Linked DNA regions of Homo sapiens: all the other regions are linked to region 6. The links are contacts of gene promoters, found by promoter capture Hi-C in human tissues and cell types (Jung and others, 2019). All regions are on one chromosome and are shown on one strand. Each heading gives the region's core, a stretch centred on a gene start or on the middle of the fragment in contact. The rest is flanking DNA. Distances are from core to core; before and after follow the strand shown.

Evidence for each region. Contacts are between HindIII fragments. The study calls those that stand out against the background at their distance.
Region 1: a fragment that was not itself captured here is called in contact with the fragment with the promoter of ZFAND3 in region 6 in 1 of the 25 tissues and cell types used here (lymphoblastoid cells).
Region 2: a fragment that was not itself captured here is called in contact with the fragment with the promoter of ZFAND3 in region 6 in 4 of the 25 tissues and cell types used here (dorsolateral prefrontal cortex, lymphoblastoid cells, mesenchymal stem cells and 1 more).
Region 3: a contact is called between a fragment that was not itself captured here and the fragment with the promoter of ZFAND3 in region 6, in 1 of the 25 tissues and cell types used here (aorta).
Region 4: a contact is called between a fragment that was not itself captured here and the fragment with the promoter of ZFAND3 in region 6, in 3 of the 25 tissues and cell types used here (adrenal gland, pancreas and thymus).
Region 5: a fragment that was not itself captured here is called in contact with the fragment with the promoter of ZFAND3 in region 6 in 2 of the 25 tissues and cell types used here (hippocampus and mesenchymal stem cells).

Annotation. Positions count from the first base shown.
Region 1 is chr6:38,684,356-38,687,055 of GRCh38, reverse strand. It overlaps GLO1 (glyoxalase I), which reads left to right. Exons shown (of 6, transcript NM_006708.3): 2 at 82-164; 3 at 2,542-2,682. Among named protein-coding and RNA genes, the nearest start is that of GLO1, 17 kb to the left of the region's middle. The HindIII fragment of the contact is 8,095 bases long and covers 1-2,700 here.
Region 2 is chr6:38,527,036-38,529,735 of GRCh38, reverse strand. The region is part of intron 6 of BTBD9 (BTB domain containing 9); the gene reads left to right. Among named protein-coding and RNA genes, the nearest start is that of BTBD9-AS1, 47 kb to the right of the region's middle. The HindIII fragment of the contact is 8,466 bases long and covers 1-2,700 here.
Region 3 is chr6:38,620,076-38,622,775 of GRCh38, reverse strand. The region is part of intron 1 of BTBD9 (BTB domain containing 9); the gene reads left to right. Among named protein-coding and RNA genes, the nearest start is that of BTBD9, 19 kb to the left of the region's middle. The HindIII fragment of the contact is 3,822 bases long and covers 1-2,700 here.
Region 4 is chr6:38,441,413-38,444,112 of GRCh38, reverse strand. All of the region lies in intron 6 of BTBD9 (BTB domain containing 9), which reads left to right. Among named protein-coding and RNA genes, the nearest start is that of BTBD9-AS1, 39 kb to the left of the region's middle. The HindIII fragment of the contact is 4,862 bases long and covers 1-2,700 here.
Region 5 is chr6:38,458,436-38,461,135 of GRCh38, reverse strand. The region is part of intron 6 of BTBD9 (BTB domain containing 9); the gene reads left to right. Among named protein-coding and RNA genes, the nearest start is that of BTBD9-AS1, 22 kb to the left of the region's middle. The HindIII fragment of the contact is 4,329 bases long and covers 1-2,700 here.
Region 6 is chr6:37,818,351-37,821,050 of GRCh38, reverse strand. It overlaps ZFAND3 (zinc finger AN1-type containing 3), which reads right to left and starts at 1,324. Exons shown (of 6, transcript NM_021943.3): 1 at 1,035-1,324. The coding sequence starts at 1,105. It overlaps ZFAND3-DT (ZFAND3 divergent transcript), which reads left to right and starts at 1,664. Exons shown (of 2, transcript XR_007059569.1): 1 at 1,664-2,473; 2 at 2,561-2,700. RefSeq lists silencers at 698-867, 1,028-1,257, 1,298-1,677 and enhancers at 956-1,758, 1,728-2,117. The HindIII fragment of the contact is 25,591 bases long and covers 1-2,700 here.

The DNA of each region.
Region 1 (2,700 bases), core at 111-2,610, 870 kb before region 6:
TATCTTGTTACAGAAAGCACAATTAATGTTGGTAATAAATGGTAAAAGTGAAAGATGTTTAATATAAATATTTTTCCATAGGATTTTCTATTGCAGCAGACCATGCTACGAGTGAAGGATCCTAAGAAGTCACTGGATTTTTATACTAGAGTTCTTGGAATGACGTAAGTCAAGTACTTATTGGCACCTTAATGTTTAAATATATAGCTTTGCAAATCTAGAGAGTGTTTTCAGACCCATCTTAAAGTTTGTTTCAGAAGTAACAGAAGTTCTTTTGGCCAGGAGTCTGTGATTAGGCCTGGCTGGACAGGGCTTCTCTCGTAAGTTCTTTTTCTTCTCTATCCCAGCCAGCCTGAAAGGGCAAAACAAGACACAAATAGTTGCATTTTCTCCAGTCTGCCTTCTCTGAGCGCTCCCAGCTAAATCCTTAATGTGTTCAGACCCCTTTTGATGTTCTGGCCACTTTTAGCCTCTTGTTTACTTCAGAAAAGTTATAGATAATAAGAACTTACTACTCAGAAAACCAATGGGTTTACTTAAAACTGACCATCTGTTCTATTTTTCTAGGCTGTGTTTTCTTTTGCTCAACAGGTCATATCCACTGATCTTGCAATCCTAAAGCATACTTATTTTTCTAAAGCATGTTTATTTTTCTTTTTTTCTCCAGCTTTACTGAGGTATATTGAGAAATAATTTTGTCATATTGTTGATTTGTTTCCCTAAGTTATGTGAGCATTTTGCTTTTGAGCATATAGATACATGAATAATAAAATAATCTTTAAATTTAGTGCCTAGATAACTTCCATTCACATTGAGAGAAAAATTTAAGTAATATATGTCTATATTTAGAAAATTTGACCAGTTCAGAAAAATACAAAATGAAAAGTAATAGCTTCCCTCCCCAAGTTCTTCTCCCCAGAGATAACTGCTGTCCAGTTTCTTGTGATTTTTTTCTAGAAAAAGGTATTATGAATATATTTATGACATATTTAAAGGACAAAATGAAAACAGATTTATTGAACACTTTTGCCAGGCACTTCAAATGTTATTTTGTTCAGTCTTCACACCAGTCTTAGGAGGTAGCTTTTATCCCCATTTCACAGACGGAGAAACCAAAGCTTAATGAGATGAAGTTACTAGCTCCAAATCCCACAGTTGGCATATGGCAGGGCTGGAACCTGTATCCATTGTCTGATGGGCTCTAATGTAGACTTCCTGTGCAGAGCCCCCAAATAGGGTACAAGTTGACAGTAAGCTGGAAGATTTGAACAGCTGAGAAAAGCAAGTTGCAACAGTTTCATTTCCTTCAGTCCCAACTGATTGGTCCATGAGGGTTGTGTAGTCTGCTTTAGTAGGTGCAGAGATTGTTTTTCATGATTGGAGTATTTGAGGTGTTTGATACTTTATTATAAACATGTTAGAGTAAATCTTATTTGTGATAAGTCAATGCAAGGATCTAAGTGGGCCAAGGTCTATTATATAGCAGTGATAATGAAATAAAAGATTGGAAGCAGAACTCTAGAAACTTTCCATTTGCTATATGGCAATAACAGCCATTTGCTCTTATTGATTATGAACAAAGTCATCTTTGAATAATCTAAAGAAAATCATATATGCATTCTCATGCCACCTTACTCCTTGCCAAATAATCCTATACCATTTAAAGTCATTTAAGGTTCAGGACTTCAGTTATCTTTCTTAAAACCTCAGGATTCATAATTCATTCACTCTCTCTCCCATCAGTCTCTTCTACTGTCTCTTTCCCCTCAGAGAAGCGTAAGTCTTCTTTGTTCCAGAATATTTCTTGCCCTCTGCTCCTTCGCCTACCTCCCCATTGTCACTGCCATGCTTGCTACTGTTTTACCTGCTCACCTGCCATTCTCTCTCCCCAGTACAGTGTAATCCAGCTGATGCTTCCCCACTCTGCTGACATTGCTCTCATGGGACCTTTCCATATCTCATGACCTTTTCTTAGTCTTAATACTGTTTGACCTTTCTACAGTATCTGATACTGTTAGCCACCTTACTGTTGACATTCACGTCTTCTGTGATACTAGTCTGTCCTTCCTCCTTCTTTCTTACCACCTATCCTTAATTTCCTTTCCTAGATGTTTTGGCATAGTAAGAACTCAATAAATGTGTTTATTTAACTGAATGACATATTTATATATGTGTTTGTATGTGTGTATATATATGAAATAGCAACAAGGTTCTTTATATTTTTCAGTACAAATAAACACAGTTCTCTTTTGGAGATAGCCGTTTCTATTTATTAACAAGTACCATAATTTCAGCTAAATGTTACTATATTTACAGAATTGATGAATTACAGAAGTTTTCATTTTTGTATTTCAAATATTTACAGATGCATTTTTCATGATATTTTTTCACTGATTTTTCCTCCTGCTTATTCCATTAAAATAGGCTTACTACATATAGCTCTTCTTTTTAGTAAAACTTGAATATTAAGTTATGTTGATTATAGTATGAATTAGCCTTTCCTGTTGTTAATGATTCAGGCTTGTTGTTTTTTCATTGCAGGCTAATCCAAAAATGTGATTTTCCCATTATGAAGTTTTCACTCTACTTCTTGGCTTATGAGGATAAAAATGACATCCCTAAAGAAAAAGATGAAAAAATAGCCTGGGCGCTCTCCAGAAAAGCTACACTTGAGCTGACACAGTGAGTATGAGTTTCTAT
Region 2 (2,700 bases), core at 20-2,519, 710 kb before region 6:
CAGGATTAAGAGATTAAAGTAAAGACAGGCATAAGAAATTACAAAAGTTATTATTTGGGAACTGATAAATGTCTATGAAATCTTCACAATTTATGTTCCTCCGCCGAGGCTCCAGCCAGTCCCTCTGTTCGGGGTCCCTGACTTCCCGCAACATGTGAGGTCATGTTTTCCTGGATGGTCTTAATGCTTGTGGGTGTTCATCAGAGTCTGGACACTGAGATTAGGTATTTGTTGTAGTCTTTGCAGTCTGGGCTTGTCTGTATCTGTCCTTCTTGGGAAGGCTTCCCAGGTAGTCAAAGGGATCTAAGTCTTTGGTCACTGCAGCTATATCTGCTTTAGGGGGCACCCCAAGCTTAGTAACACTGTGGGTCTTGCAGACTCATAGAGGTACCACCCTGGTGGTCTTGGGTAATATCCAAGAGAATTTCTTGGATTACCAGGTGGAGACTCTTCTTTTCTTTCCCCCAAACAAATGGAGTCTCTCTCTGCTGAGATGCCTGGAACTGGAGGAGGGGTGATACAGGCTGTTAATTCAGACCTGAAGCCAGCTTAGCAATGGGTCTTTCCCAAGCCCCACAGTGACCACTGCCTGGCTATGGCTGATGTTCATTCAAGTCCCAAGGGCTTCTCAGTCAGCTTGTAGTGAATGCTGCCAGTCCTGAGTCTCTTCCTTCAGGGCAGTGGGCTCCCTTCAGGACCAGGACAGGTCCAGAATTGCCACCCAGGAGTCAAGGCCTAGAACTGGGGACTCCAGGAGCCCACTTGGTGCTCTATCCCACTGTGGCCAACCTGGCACCCAAGCTGCAAGACAATGTCCCATTTACTCTTGTCTCTCTTTTTCTTAAGCAGAAAGGATCTCTTCCTGTATCCACCACAGCTGGGAATGTGGTGGGTCACACACCTGAAGCCAGCACAGCTCTTAGTCTTACCCAAGGCCCACAATGAGTACTGCCTGCCTGGCTATTCCTGTTAATTATTCAGGGCCCAAAGGCTCTTTAGTCAGCAGGTAATGAATTCTGCCAGGACTGGGTCCTTCCCTTCAAGGCAACAGTTCCTTTCTGGCCCAAGATGTGTTTAGAAGTGTCATCTGGGAGCTAGCACCTGGAATGGGGGCCTCAGGATTCTGCCTGGTGCCATATTCTACCATGACTGAGCTGTTATCCATGTTAAGACAAAATACTCTTCCTTCTCCTCTCCTCTTCTCAAACAGAGGTAAGAAGTCTCTCTGAGAGCTGCGAGCTGTGCTGCTTGGGATTGGGGGAGGGGTGTTGCAAGCATTTCCGTGGCCACCCTGGCTTGTGTATCACTGGGTCACGTGCCCCCCAGGTCCACTGGCTTCGAGCCCAGCACAGCACCAGGACTTGCATAGACATTTAATTCCTTGTGGTCTAGACTGCCTTTCCAGTTCATTGAAGGCCCCGGAACACTTTAGCATGTGGTGGCAGGGCTTGCCAGGACTCAGGTTCTGAGCCCTGGGGTGGGCAATTTCTTTCTGGCTAGGGCTGGTCTAAATGCTCCCTCTGATAGGTGCCAACTGAGTTCTGCCCAGTGCTGCTTTCCACTGTGACAAAATAGCACTGAGTTCCAATGCAAAGTCCCACAGTCACTACACTCTGCCTCCCTCCAAGTGCACAGATTCTCTCTTTGTGCCACATGGCCATGGCCACTACTGGGGAATGGGGAAGGGATGTTGTAGGTGATTCAAGACTGTCTTTCCTACCCTCTTCAGTGCCTCTTTCCTTAATATAATATTATTATGATCACTTACCTGACTCTTCATTCTTATGAAGGGGCTTTTTTTATGTGGATAGTTGTTAAATTTGGTGTTCTTGCTGGAGGGATGATCACCGGAGGATTCTGTTCGGCTGTCTTATTCTGCCTTCCTATTTCTGATTTTCATGAGAGTGATTTGTCATGATTAAAAAAAAAGTGGGAATCATGGTGATAGAGTCTTTCCTTTCCTAGGAAATTGGTTTCTGATTATGATTCTGACTTATATTGATGTGGTTTAACTACAATGTAGAATGTCCTTGTATTAGTCCCTTTTCACACTGCTGTAAAGATACTATCCAAGACTGGGTAATTTATAAAGGAAAGAGGTTTAATTGACTCATAGTTCTGCATGGCTAGGGAGGCCTCAGGAAACATACAGTCATGACAGAAGGGGAAGCAGGCACCTTCACAAGATTGCAGGAGAGAGAGTGAGCAAGAGCAGGGAAAACTGCCTTATAAAATGATCACCTCTCGTGAGAACTCACTCACTATCATGAGAACAGCATGGGGGATACTGCCCCTGTGATCCAGTCACCTCCCTCCCTTGACATGTGGGGATTACAGTTTCCTCCCTTGATACATGGGGATTACAATTAGACATGAGATTTGGGTGAGGACACAGAACCAAGTCATATCATTCTGCCCTGGCCCCCACCAAATCACATCTTTTTTTTTTTTTTTTTTTTTTTTTTTTTTTTTGAGACAGAGTCTCGCTCTGGAGTGCAGTGGTGCGATCTTGGCTCATTGCAACCTCTAACTCCTGGGTTCCAGTGATTCTCCTGCCTCAGCCTCCCAGGTAGCTGGGATTACAGGTACATGCCACCATGCCCAGCTAATTTTTTGTGTTTTTAGTAGAGATGGGGTTTCACTATGTTGGCCAGGCTGGTCTGAAACTCTTGACCTCAGATGATCCATCTGCCTGGCCTC
Region 3 (2,700 bases), core at 63-2,562, 800 kb before region 6:
AGTTGGGGCTTGAAGTTGTAGGGTGTAATTACACTGATGGGATAGTAGGTGCCCCAGGGGCAGGCCTGATAACAGGTTGCATTGGATGCATAAAGGGGCTTGGAAAGTTAACACGGTGTTCGTGGTTACAGGGCCATGTATAGGCTTTTCATTGCTTGTGTAATAGGTGAGGTTGGAAATGTAAGAGCATAAAAGCTGGATTGCGTATCCTATTAGGGTATTTTTGGTCCTATCAGAGATGGGGCCTGAGGATTGTGGCCTCCAGGTGCAGTGAAGGTAATATTGTATCCCTAGTGCCCTGGAAATTCCCTAAGTTACTGTGGCTTTAAAAGCTGGACGATTGTCACTTTGTAAGCTTTGGGGAAGCCCAAATCTAGGAATTATTTCATGAATTAGGACTTTAACCACTTCCTGAGCCTTCTCTGTCTTGCAGGGGAAGGCTTCTATCCAATTTGTAAAGTTATCAACAGGGACTAACATAGTATTGAAATCCCCTTGACTTAGGCATATGGGAGAAGTCTAACTGCCAGTGCTCCCCGGGATAGTGCCCTATTCTTTGTTGCCCCAGAGGGGCCTTACAACGGACCGAGGGATTATCCTTTGGCACACCTCACAGGCTTTGACTACTTGTCAGATGGTCCAGAGGAGATTTGGCCTTGTAAATAGGGATTTGGCCATTTGATGAGTGTTCTTAATACCCATATGAAAAGTTTGGTGGAGGGACTTAAGTATTTTCCACTGGCTGGCTTCGGGTATGAGTACCTTCCCCTCTAATGTCGTTAACCACCCCAGGGGGAGAAAACTATGCCCCTGTGAAAGTCCCCATTCTGTTTTGGTCAGGGAATACTGGGGCTTAATCTCTTGGACAGGGTTGTTCCATACCAAGGGTCCTTCCATAGGTATTTCTGTTGGGAGGTTCCGCCTGGCAGCAATTTTGGCCTCAGCATCTGCCCGACGGTTTCCTTCTGCCTTTTCTCTTCACCTTTTTGATGGCTTTGGCAGGGTATGACTGCCACCTCCTTGGGTTTTTGTACAGCATGCAGTAACTCCATGATTTCCTTGTGGTATTTATTGGGGGTTCCCCCAGATGTTAGGAACTCCCTTTCTTTCCATATTGCAGCATGGGCATGTAGGATTAGATAAGCGTACTTGCTATCTGTGTTCACATTTATTCTTTTTTTCTTTCTCAGTTCTAAGGCTTGGGTAAGCACCACTAGTTCTGCTAACTGGGTGCTGGTCCCTGGGGGAAGGGGCTTGCTTTCAGGTACTGTTACATCACTAACTATGGCATAACCTGCCCTTCGCATCCCATTCTCCACAAATGAACTTCCATCAGTATATAGGTTAAGGTCAGGATTAGCTAAGGGGACTTCCAAGAGTTCCTCTCAGGCGGCATAAGTCTGGGCTACAATTTGTTGGCAGTCATGCTTGATTGGTTCCCCATCCTCTGGGAGAAAAGTAGCAGGGTTGAGGGCCGCACATGTGCGTATTTGAAGCACTGGTCCCTCAAGGAGTAGCCCCTGATATCTAAGCAGGTGGTTGTCTGATAGCCATAAATTTCCTTTGGCACCTAGTATGCCATTTACATCATGAGTAGTCCAGACAGTGAGATCCTTTCCTTGTACTATTTTGATAGGCTCTGATATTAAGATGGCCACCACCACAGCTACCTGTAAACAGTGAGGCCAGCTCTTTGCTACTATATCAATTTCCTTAGGTATGTCACTGGTTGTGGGGTTGTCCCGTGAGTCTGAGTAAGGATTCCAAGAGCTATTCCTGCTCTCTCTCTGGCATATAAAGAGAAGTTTTGTCCTGTGGGAAGGCTTAAGGCTAGAGCTTGTACTAGGGCCTGCTTTAAGGTTTTGAAGGCTGTTTCTGCCTCTCGTTCCCTTTCTACTAGATGACTATTTGCCCTCTGGGTCTCCTTGATTAGAGTATAGAGTGGCCTGGCCATCTCACTGTATCCAGGGATCCATAGTTGGCAAAAGTTGGTGATCCCAAGGAACCCCCGCAACTGTTTTAATGTCTTAGGGCGAGGACAAGCCAGTATAGGCTGTATTCGTTCTTTGCTGAGGGCCCTGGTTACTCTGGCTAAGCTTAGGTCTAGATATTTGACTTGTTGTAGGCAGAGCTGGGCCTTCGGTTTAGATGCTTTGTACCCTTGATTAGCTAGAAGGTTCAGGAGATCTAGAGTAGCCTGCTGGCATGAGGCTTCCAAACTGGTAGCCAAAAGTAAATCATCCACATACTGAAGGACCAGAGTGCCTGGACTTGAGAAGTGGCCTAGATCTTGGGCCAATATCTGACCAAACAGATGAGGGCTATCCCTAAACCCTTGAGGCAAAACCGTCCATGTAAATTGGGACGTGTGGTCTGTGGGATCCTCAAAGGCAAAGAGAAACTGGCAGACAGAGTGCAGGGGAATGCAGAAGAAGGCATCCTTCAGGTCCAAAACAGTGAACCATTCCACTTCCTCTGGTATTTGAGAGAGCAGGGTATAGGAGTTGGGTACAACTGAATGTAGAGGAATTACTGCCTCATTGATGAATCTAAGATCTTGCACTAGTCTCCACTGACCTTTTGGTTTTTGTACTCCTAGAATTCGGGTATTGCAGGGACTGCTGCATTTTCTTACTAACCCTTGAACTTTTAAATATCTGAGAATATCCTGTAATCCTTCATGAGCTTCAGGCCTTAAGG
Region 4 (2,700 bases), core at 91-2,590, 620 kb before region 6:
ATAAGGAAAGGCAAAAAGGTATGGACAAAGAAGGTCCAGCACTTAGTGATCAGGTACCCAGTGTGAAGAACTGGGAGAAGCCTGTTAAGAAGAGAGCACAGTGACCAAAGGCAAGAGCAGATTAGGTCACACTGATGCAGCCTGTAGAGGCAGGAAACCACTTAAGCAGGGGAATGACACAAGCAGATTTGTATCTTTCAAAACCGCTCCGTTTTGAAGAATCATACCCCTGGGCAGAGGTGTGGAGTGGATTAGAGGGAGCTCAGAGTGGATGGGGAGACCAGTAAGGAGACTGTTTAGTAATTTTGATGAGAGAAGAGATGCTAGCTAGGAGGCTAAGGTCGTAGCAACAAGGGCAGGAGATGTAAATAGATTTGAGAGATTTAGAAGGAAGCCAGTTTAGGACTTGGCGATTAATTGGATGTGTGCATGTGGGTAAGAGGTGGAAATGAGTGAGCGAGAGAAAGAGAGAGAGAGACAAAGAGAGTGTGTTCAGGGCCAACTTCCTGATTTCTGGCTTGAGCAGCTGCCTGCTTGCTAATCCCTATAATGAGTGAGAATGGTGGAGAAGCTATTTTGGAGGAGAGAGGAAGTGGTAGCACTGTATGCCCTTTATAGTGGGAAATTGGGAAATACGAGTTGATATGCCAGAATAAGGGGAAAGTGAGACAGGGGCAGGGCATGCATTGTGAAATGAACATGAAAACACATGACAGAAACAAGTGAACAGTTAGGTGATAACACATCTGTAGGCATTGAGGTGTGGTAAGTTGAGCCAGGGAAAACATATTCTCACCCCTTCACCTAGAAGCAAGACCAGCCTAAACTAATCTTAAGTGTGTTATATATTGGCTTCAGAGGACATTTGTCTGTCAGTGTCAGGGTTTCAGTCTCTGTTGATTCCCCTCACAGCAGCCTGAATTTTTCTTCTCTGATAAAGTTAGTATAGAATTCTAGCTTTGTTTGTTAAATTGTTCATGTGGTCCATTGTGTTACAAAGTCATACCACCACAATCCATTTGCCTGCCAAGTCAATACTTGCTTCACAAACATAGCAGAAATTAAGATGATTCTGTCTAGCTTGAGTTTCTTACAATTTTTTTTTAAAAAATCCTTGATCCTTTTATGTTTTAAGAGCACAAATGGGCCAAGCGCGGTGGCTCACACATGTAATCCCAGCACTTTGGGAGGCCAAGGCGGGCAGACCACCTGAGGTTGGGAGTTTGAGACCAGCCTGACCAACATGGAAAAACCCCTATCTACTAAAAATACAAATTTAGCTGGGTATGGTGGCACATGCCTGTAATCCCAGCTACTCAGGAGGCTGAGGCAGGAGAATCACTTGAACCTGGGAGGCAGAGGTTGCGGTAAGCCGAGATTGCACCATTGCACTGCAGCCTGGGCAACAAAAGCGAAACTCCATCTCAAAAAAAAAAAAAAAAAAAAAAAAAGAGTACAAATGAGTCTGTTCTATATGACCTCCAACTTTCCTTCTTCACAGGAGGGACATCTGTTGTTAAACAGTGTGGACTGGGTGAAGCTTCTGGGGTCATCATATTAACTTCTTTGGGTGTATTCTTCCTCTCCATGTACTTAGTACTTCTGTTTTTATTTTAAATATATATATAGTACGACTTTTTTTTGAGATGAAGTCTCGCTCTCTTGCCCAAGCTGGAATGCAGTGGCGTGATCTTGGCTCACTGAAACCTCCGCCTCCCAGGTTCAAGCCTCCCGAGTAGGCTGGGACTACAGGCAGGCACCACCATGCCCAGCTAATTTTTATATTTTTAGTAGAGACGGGGTTTCACTATGTTGGCCAGGCTGGTGTCGAACTCCTGACCTCGTGACCTGCCCGCCTCGGCCTCCCAAAGTGCTGGGATTACAGGTGTGAGCCACTGCACCCGGCCCAGACTCTGTTATTATAGGAATTCACAGACAAAATGTTGCCCCTACAAAACAGCAATGGAGCCTAACAAAAACTGTCTCACCAACATCAGCATTATGAAGGCACTGTGATTTTGTTATATGTATTTCTGTGCAATCTAGTACTGGGAAGCTATTCTCTCTTGCCGCAGTTTTGCCTGGTCCCTTAAAATAGGAACTTTTACCATCTCGGGAATTTTGGGAGGAAGGCTTCATGCATCAGAGAGGGGCTGTAGAACCAGACTGGGTTATCTCTCAGCTCTGTACTTTCTAGTTGTATACCTTTAGGTATAACTGTATGACTTTAACTTTTGTTTGGGCCATATGTAAAATTGGACTGTTGATAACATCCACTTCATAGGTTGTTGTCAGGAATAATGAGGTAATATATGTAAAGCACTTAGAATAGTATCTGGCACCCAGTAAAAGCTCAATAAATGCCAGCTATTATTGCTTTCTTAATATCTCTCAGAGGCTGGGTGTGGTGGCTCATGCCTTTAATACTAGTGCTTTTGGAGGCCAAGGTGGGAGGATCACTTGAGCCCAGGAGTGTAAGACCAGCCTGAGCAACAAAATGAGATCTGTTTCTATGAAAAAAAATTTTTTTTAACTAGCCAGGCACGGTAGCGGGTGCCTGTAGTCCTAGCTACTCCCGAAGCTGAGGTGGGAACATCTCAGATGTTCAAGGCTGCCGTGAGCCATGATTGGCTCGCGTTGTCCAGCCCGGACGACAGACTGGGACCCCCTCTCTAAAACAAAAACATCTCCTAGGATAAG
Region 5 (2,700 bases), core at 153-2,652, 640 kb before region 6:
AAGAAGGGAATGTGAGGTCTGTAACTATAAAACTTACTGTGCCATTCCCTTTACCCCAAGAGGGTAAACAGAGTGAGCGTGAAACGCCTGGTTAGAACCAGGGAGGCAATTTCCTGAAGAACCAAATTTAATTACTTTCATAGTTAGGTGACAAACATAAAATATTTCATTAATTACTAAGTTATCCAGCCTTTAAAAAAACCCAGACTGTGGGGCCGGGCGTGGTGGCTCACACCTGTAATCTCAGCACTTTGGGAGGCCAAGGTGGGCGGATCACCTGAGGTCAGGAGACGGAGATCAGCCTGGGAAACATGGTGAAACCCCGTCTCTACTAAAATACAAAAGTTAGCCGGGCGTGATGGCAGGCGCCTGTAGTCCCAGCTACTTGGGAGGCTGAGGCAGGAGAATTGCTTGAACCCAGGAGGCAGAGGCTGCAGTGAGCCGGGATCACGCCACTGCACTCCAGCCTCGGTGACAGAGCAAGACTACGTCTCAAAAAAACAAAAACAAAAACAAAAAAAACCCTAACTGTGAAATGATTAGTAACACATTCTGTGGGTTGGCTGAGTGTCTATATGGTATGTGAAGAAACATTTCTTTTTGTTTATTATAAATTCACTAGCTATTAGTGTAGGGGTGTCCTATTGTTCTTATATTACACCAGTAAATTCTTTTTTCTCTTGGAAGGGGAAATAAATACGCAACTGCGGTGTGCATAATGATGTTCAGACTAATGTTGTTACTAACCACAAAACAAATAGGAATGTGTTGTCAGATTCCTGGGTAGAAATGACATAAGGGGCAGACTGGTTTGATCATTTCTCGGATCCAGCTGTTTGATGATTGCTGTGATATTGCTAAATTGGAAAGGAAGAAAACACAGAACTTAAATAGACAGTACAGAGAAACTCATGTATTACAGAAATGTGATGTTTACATTTTCTTACTGCCTAAGGTTTAGATGCAGATCCTTGGAAGTTTAGTGTTGTAACAGAGAAGTCTGTTAACTTAGGTGTTAAAATATAAGCAAACAGATTATCTCCCCGAAATAATTGTATTAGCATTGACTTCCCACTCTGTTAAATAGACTGTTTTGCTAGGATTTTCTAATTGAAATTTATATCATAAGCTAGCTTGAGATGATCTTCTAAAATGATGAAAGAAATGAAATAATACAAAGCTAAAACTCTGTTCTCGTAATGTTGTAAAACCACGGTAGACAAATCAATTCTGGAGGTCACAGTAAGAAATAAAATGGCTCTTTTAAAATCAAAGGCTACATATTGACTTCTACTTTAAAATAAATGGTCTTTGCAAATAATTATACTTGCAAATTAAATGTACCTGTGTGCAGTGTGAAGTGGGTTTTTTGAGCAAATTATGAACATAATTTTTAACTGTGAAGGTGTATTGGTAAGGATAGGCTAAGCTGTATTGTAATAACAGCAACAAAAACAAAATCTCAGTAACTTAGCATAACAAAAGTCTATTTCTTGTTGACATTACACATCTGCCATAGGTCAAGGATTCTGTTCCTCGTAGGCTCTCAGGGACTTAGGCTAATGGAGGCTCTATCCTCTTATAGCTGTACTATCTGGAACATGTAGCTTCCTTCAGCACTGCAGCATGGGAAGCCAGAGTTGATGATTCATACACCAGCATTTACATTTTTCAGCATGAAAGTGGTATGTTCTTCAACTCACAACCCATTGGCCAGAACCAGTAACATGACTTCACCTAACTGCAAACTAGCTGGAGAATTGTGGGAGAGCTCATGGATATTCAGTGATAAATGTCTTTGTTATAAAAGGGTGGTCATAGCCAGGCACATGGCTCACGCCTGTAATCCCAGCACTTTGGGAGGCCGAGGCTGGGGATCACCTGAGGTCAGGAGTTCGAGACCAGCCTGGCCAACATGGTGAAACCGTGTCTCTACTAAAAATACAAAAATTAGCCAGGCGTGGTGGTGCGCACCTGTAATCCCAGCTACTTGAAAGGCTGCGGCAGGAGAATTGCTTGAACCCAGGAGGCAGAGGTTGCAGTGAGCCGAGATCACACCATTGCACTCCAGCCTGGGCAACAGAGTGAGACTCTGTCTCCAAAAAATAAAAATAAATAAAAAATAAAAGCATGGTCAGACTTTTATATAGCATGAATTACGCTTTGCCTGGCATCTTTGAAATAATACCTTTAATAGAACATTTGATGTCATATAATTAAAGTATTCAACTGGCAAAGATGCTCATAAAATGGCCTTTTTTTGTCATACTTAAATTTTTTGTGTATTCTCATTTGTTATAAGGAGGGGGGAAACAGAATCAATATATTCTTCAATTTACCATTATTCATATAAGTGGTACTTTGCCATTTGCCATTTTTCAAATAATCCAGATGACCTTGCTTCTGACCACAAAGTGAGATTTTGTGTGTGTTGTTTGTGTAGAAATATGTTGCTACAGTGAAAACTCACAGTATATTTTGAAAACTGCTAGAATGATGTCAGGTATCTTTGGTTAGTTCTTCCTGTTAGGGATCTGTCTATTCTAGTTTTTGCTGAGTTATGATGTTACATTTTTCCTTCCAATAAAGCTAGACTGTTGAGGAGGGGAATCTTATATCATGATAGGATTATCCTGAGCTTTTGTTTAGGCTATTTTCTAAGCCTTTTAGGGAAGGCTATTTCCTGAGTCTTTTGGGAGG
Region 6 (2,700 bases), core at 75-2,574:
AATCTCTCAAAAAATAAAACTAAAACAAAACGATAAAAGAGAAAAGGGACTCAAATCACAAAAGCCAGCCTTCAAAGTCTCCAGCTTTCTTACTGCAGAACTACAGTCATGTGGTATGATGGAGGCACCTGTTAGGTGGCAATCCATGAAGCTTAAAGTGTTACCAGGAGAATTTAAACAGTAATGGGGGGAGGAAGAGGAGCTGATTTCCCACCTCACATTTTTTTCGCCTTAACACATGATGGCCAAACAATATATGCTACCCACTGTCAACATTTTTATCATTTTTACTTAAATTGAGAAAGAGGAGAATTTGAGAGCCAACTGAGGAAACTGGATCTCATATTCCCCAATCCAGGCTGACTTCAGGTTTTGTGTGGTTTTTTTCTTCCTTTTTGACAAGGAAATTTTACATATCTCCTGAAACGTGTTTTACATGAAGGTGAGACCTCAACAATCTTATAACTTTACCCCAGCCTGGTTCTGGACTCGGTTTTTACAAACGGGTGACGTGTGAATAGCTTCCTAAAAGCAAATGGGGCACTGGGATATAATCTAGGAAGTGATGATGCAAGTCTCCGGAGGACGGGGAGGAGGGGAGGTGAAGAAGTCAGAGGAAATACCCTCCTAGTGCCTGGGCACCAACTCACGCCCCGGGAGGGAGGAAGGGCTGGCTTCCACATGCCCACGGAAGGGGCACCCCTGCTCCTCCCGGAGCGGTCAACGCCGCCCCCTCATCCCTCCCCGCCGCCCTGCCCCCCTCACCCGTGGCCCAGGAGGCCCCCGTGGGCCCGAGCTTCAGGCCGGCGAGTCCCAAAGGGTAGCAACGCACCCCCGGCAGGGCCTTCTCTGCCCACCCCCAGCTCCCCACCCGGCACCCCTCCCCGGAACGCGACCCCCACCCCCTCCCCGTAGGCCCGGGCTGGGCCCAGCCTCCAAGGTTCCGGCCTCCCGGGCCCCGAGGCCTGCCCAGGCTGCCCTGGCGTCTGCGCCCCCGGCCCCCGCCCCCCGCCCCCACCCGGCCGGGCACTTACCCCCAGAAGCCGCAGGGACAGCGAGGCGGCAGGCTGGGCGCTTTGCTGCGCTCGCTCCCAGCGTCTCCCATGGTGCTCGGCGGCGGCGGAGCTCGGCGGCGGCAGCGGTGGCGGCGGCTGGGCCCGGGCCCCGCTCTGAGGAGGCGGTGGCGGCGGCGTCGGGGGGCTCGGGGCGGGGGGAGGGGGAAGGAGCGGGCGCGCGGGCGGGCGCGAGTCCGGGGCTCGGAGCCGGGATTCCAGGCCGGTCAGCTGGAGGCGGGCCGCACCACTCGGCCTGCGGAGACGGGGAGGGGGCGGAGAGGCGCGGAGAGAAGAAGGAGGGAGCCGAGGAGGAGGGGCGTGCGGACGCACCGAGGACCGCGGGGGAGGAGGGACACAGACGCCCTCGGCGGGTCTCACCGCCGCTCCCCAGCCAGAGAGATGTCCTGTGCGGTGGCGCAGGGAAGGACCGGAGCCCCCCGCCGGCTCCGGAGTCGCAGCGGCCGCTCTGAAGCCCCGGGCCCTGCTGTCTCCGTAACACCGTCCCCTCCCCCGGAGGCTGCGCTGACCGGACAATGGCCGCTCCGCCCCCTCCCCGGCGTGCGCCCCTCCCGAGGAGTCACAATGGTCTCGCCCGGGGGAGCCAACGCCAAAGCCCAGCCGCTGATCAGCTGGGATCCGGGCGTGCCACTTCGTTCCGCGCCTCAAAGGCGGAGTGCGGGGCTGTGGGAGAAAACGAGAGCCTCGGGCTGTCGCCCGGCGACGGGCGGCTGAGGCCTTCGTATTCTTAGAACTTTTAGAATCTGAAGCAAACTTATCTTCCCCCTGTCTGAAGAAGGGGAGCAGGTTTCTGAGTACTCCGGGGCGCGGTGCCTCCCCCTAAACGCGAATGGTGCGCTCCAAGCGGGAGGGGGAGGAGCAGATTAGTTGTGTAGGGTAAATTGGGCCAGTCCCAGAGTGGCGGCGCATGCGCCCGTAGAACCCGTAACCGAGTGCGAGGAGGGGCCTGGGGGAGCAATGCCAAACGCGGAAGTGGAGCTCTGGCTTCCCGGGGGCGTCGGAGTCAAGGTCCCTGGAGCTGCCGCTCTGGCTCCTGGGCGATTCCGGGGAGCCATTCTCCCCAATTTGCCAACTCCCTGGGCATCTCTCTCTCTCTTCCTGGTCCCGCCACACCCAAACAACTCTTATAGTTCCACCCGGTATACTGGTCTCTTGACAGGAACTTTTGGGAAATGCCCCTCCCCCAGCCCCTTGTCTGGGGCAACTTCCTTGTCTCTTCTCCCCCACCGGTGTTGGGGAGTTCCTTGTCTCCACTCCCAACCACAGAGCCACAAGTACATTATCTATGCCCAGGCGAGTCCCTATGCCCAGGCTAGGAGAGCCGCACTTCTTCCTACAGCTGACACGTTTGGTTTTTGGAGGGGAAAGGGGAGCTGTAGCTGAATCAGTAATGGAAATTGGTAAGTGACCAAAGAAGTTTGAGACACTAAAAAAATGAGTCCTTTAACGATCCTAGTCCTTGATCCTGAGCTCATTCTGATCTCCAGTTAGTCATGAACAGAGAAATCGATTATTGATGACTAATTCAACACGGAGGCAACATCCTCCAGACCTTTTGGAGACCCATCGCTGAGGAAGACTTCCTGGCTCTTAGGAATAGCTGCCGTATACCCTCCTTGCCTGTCGG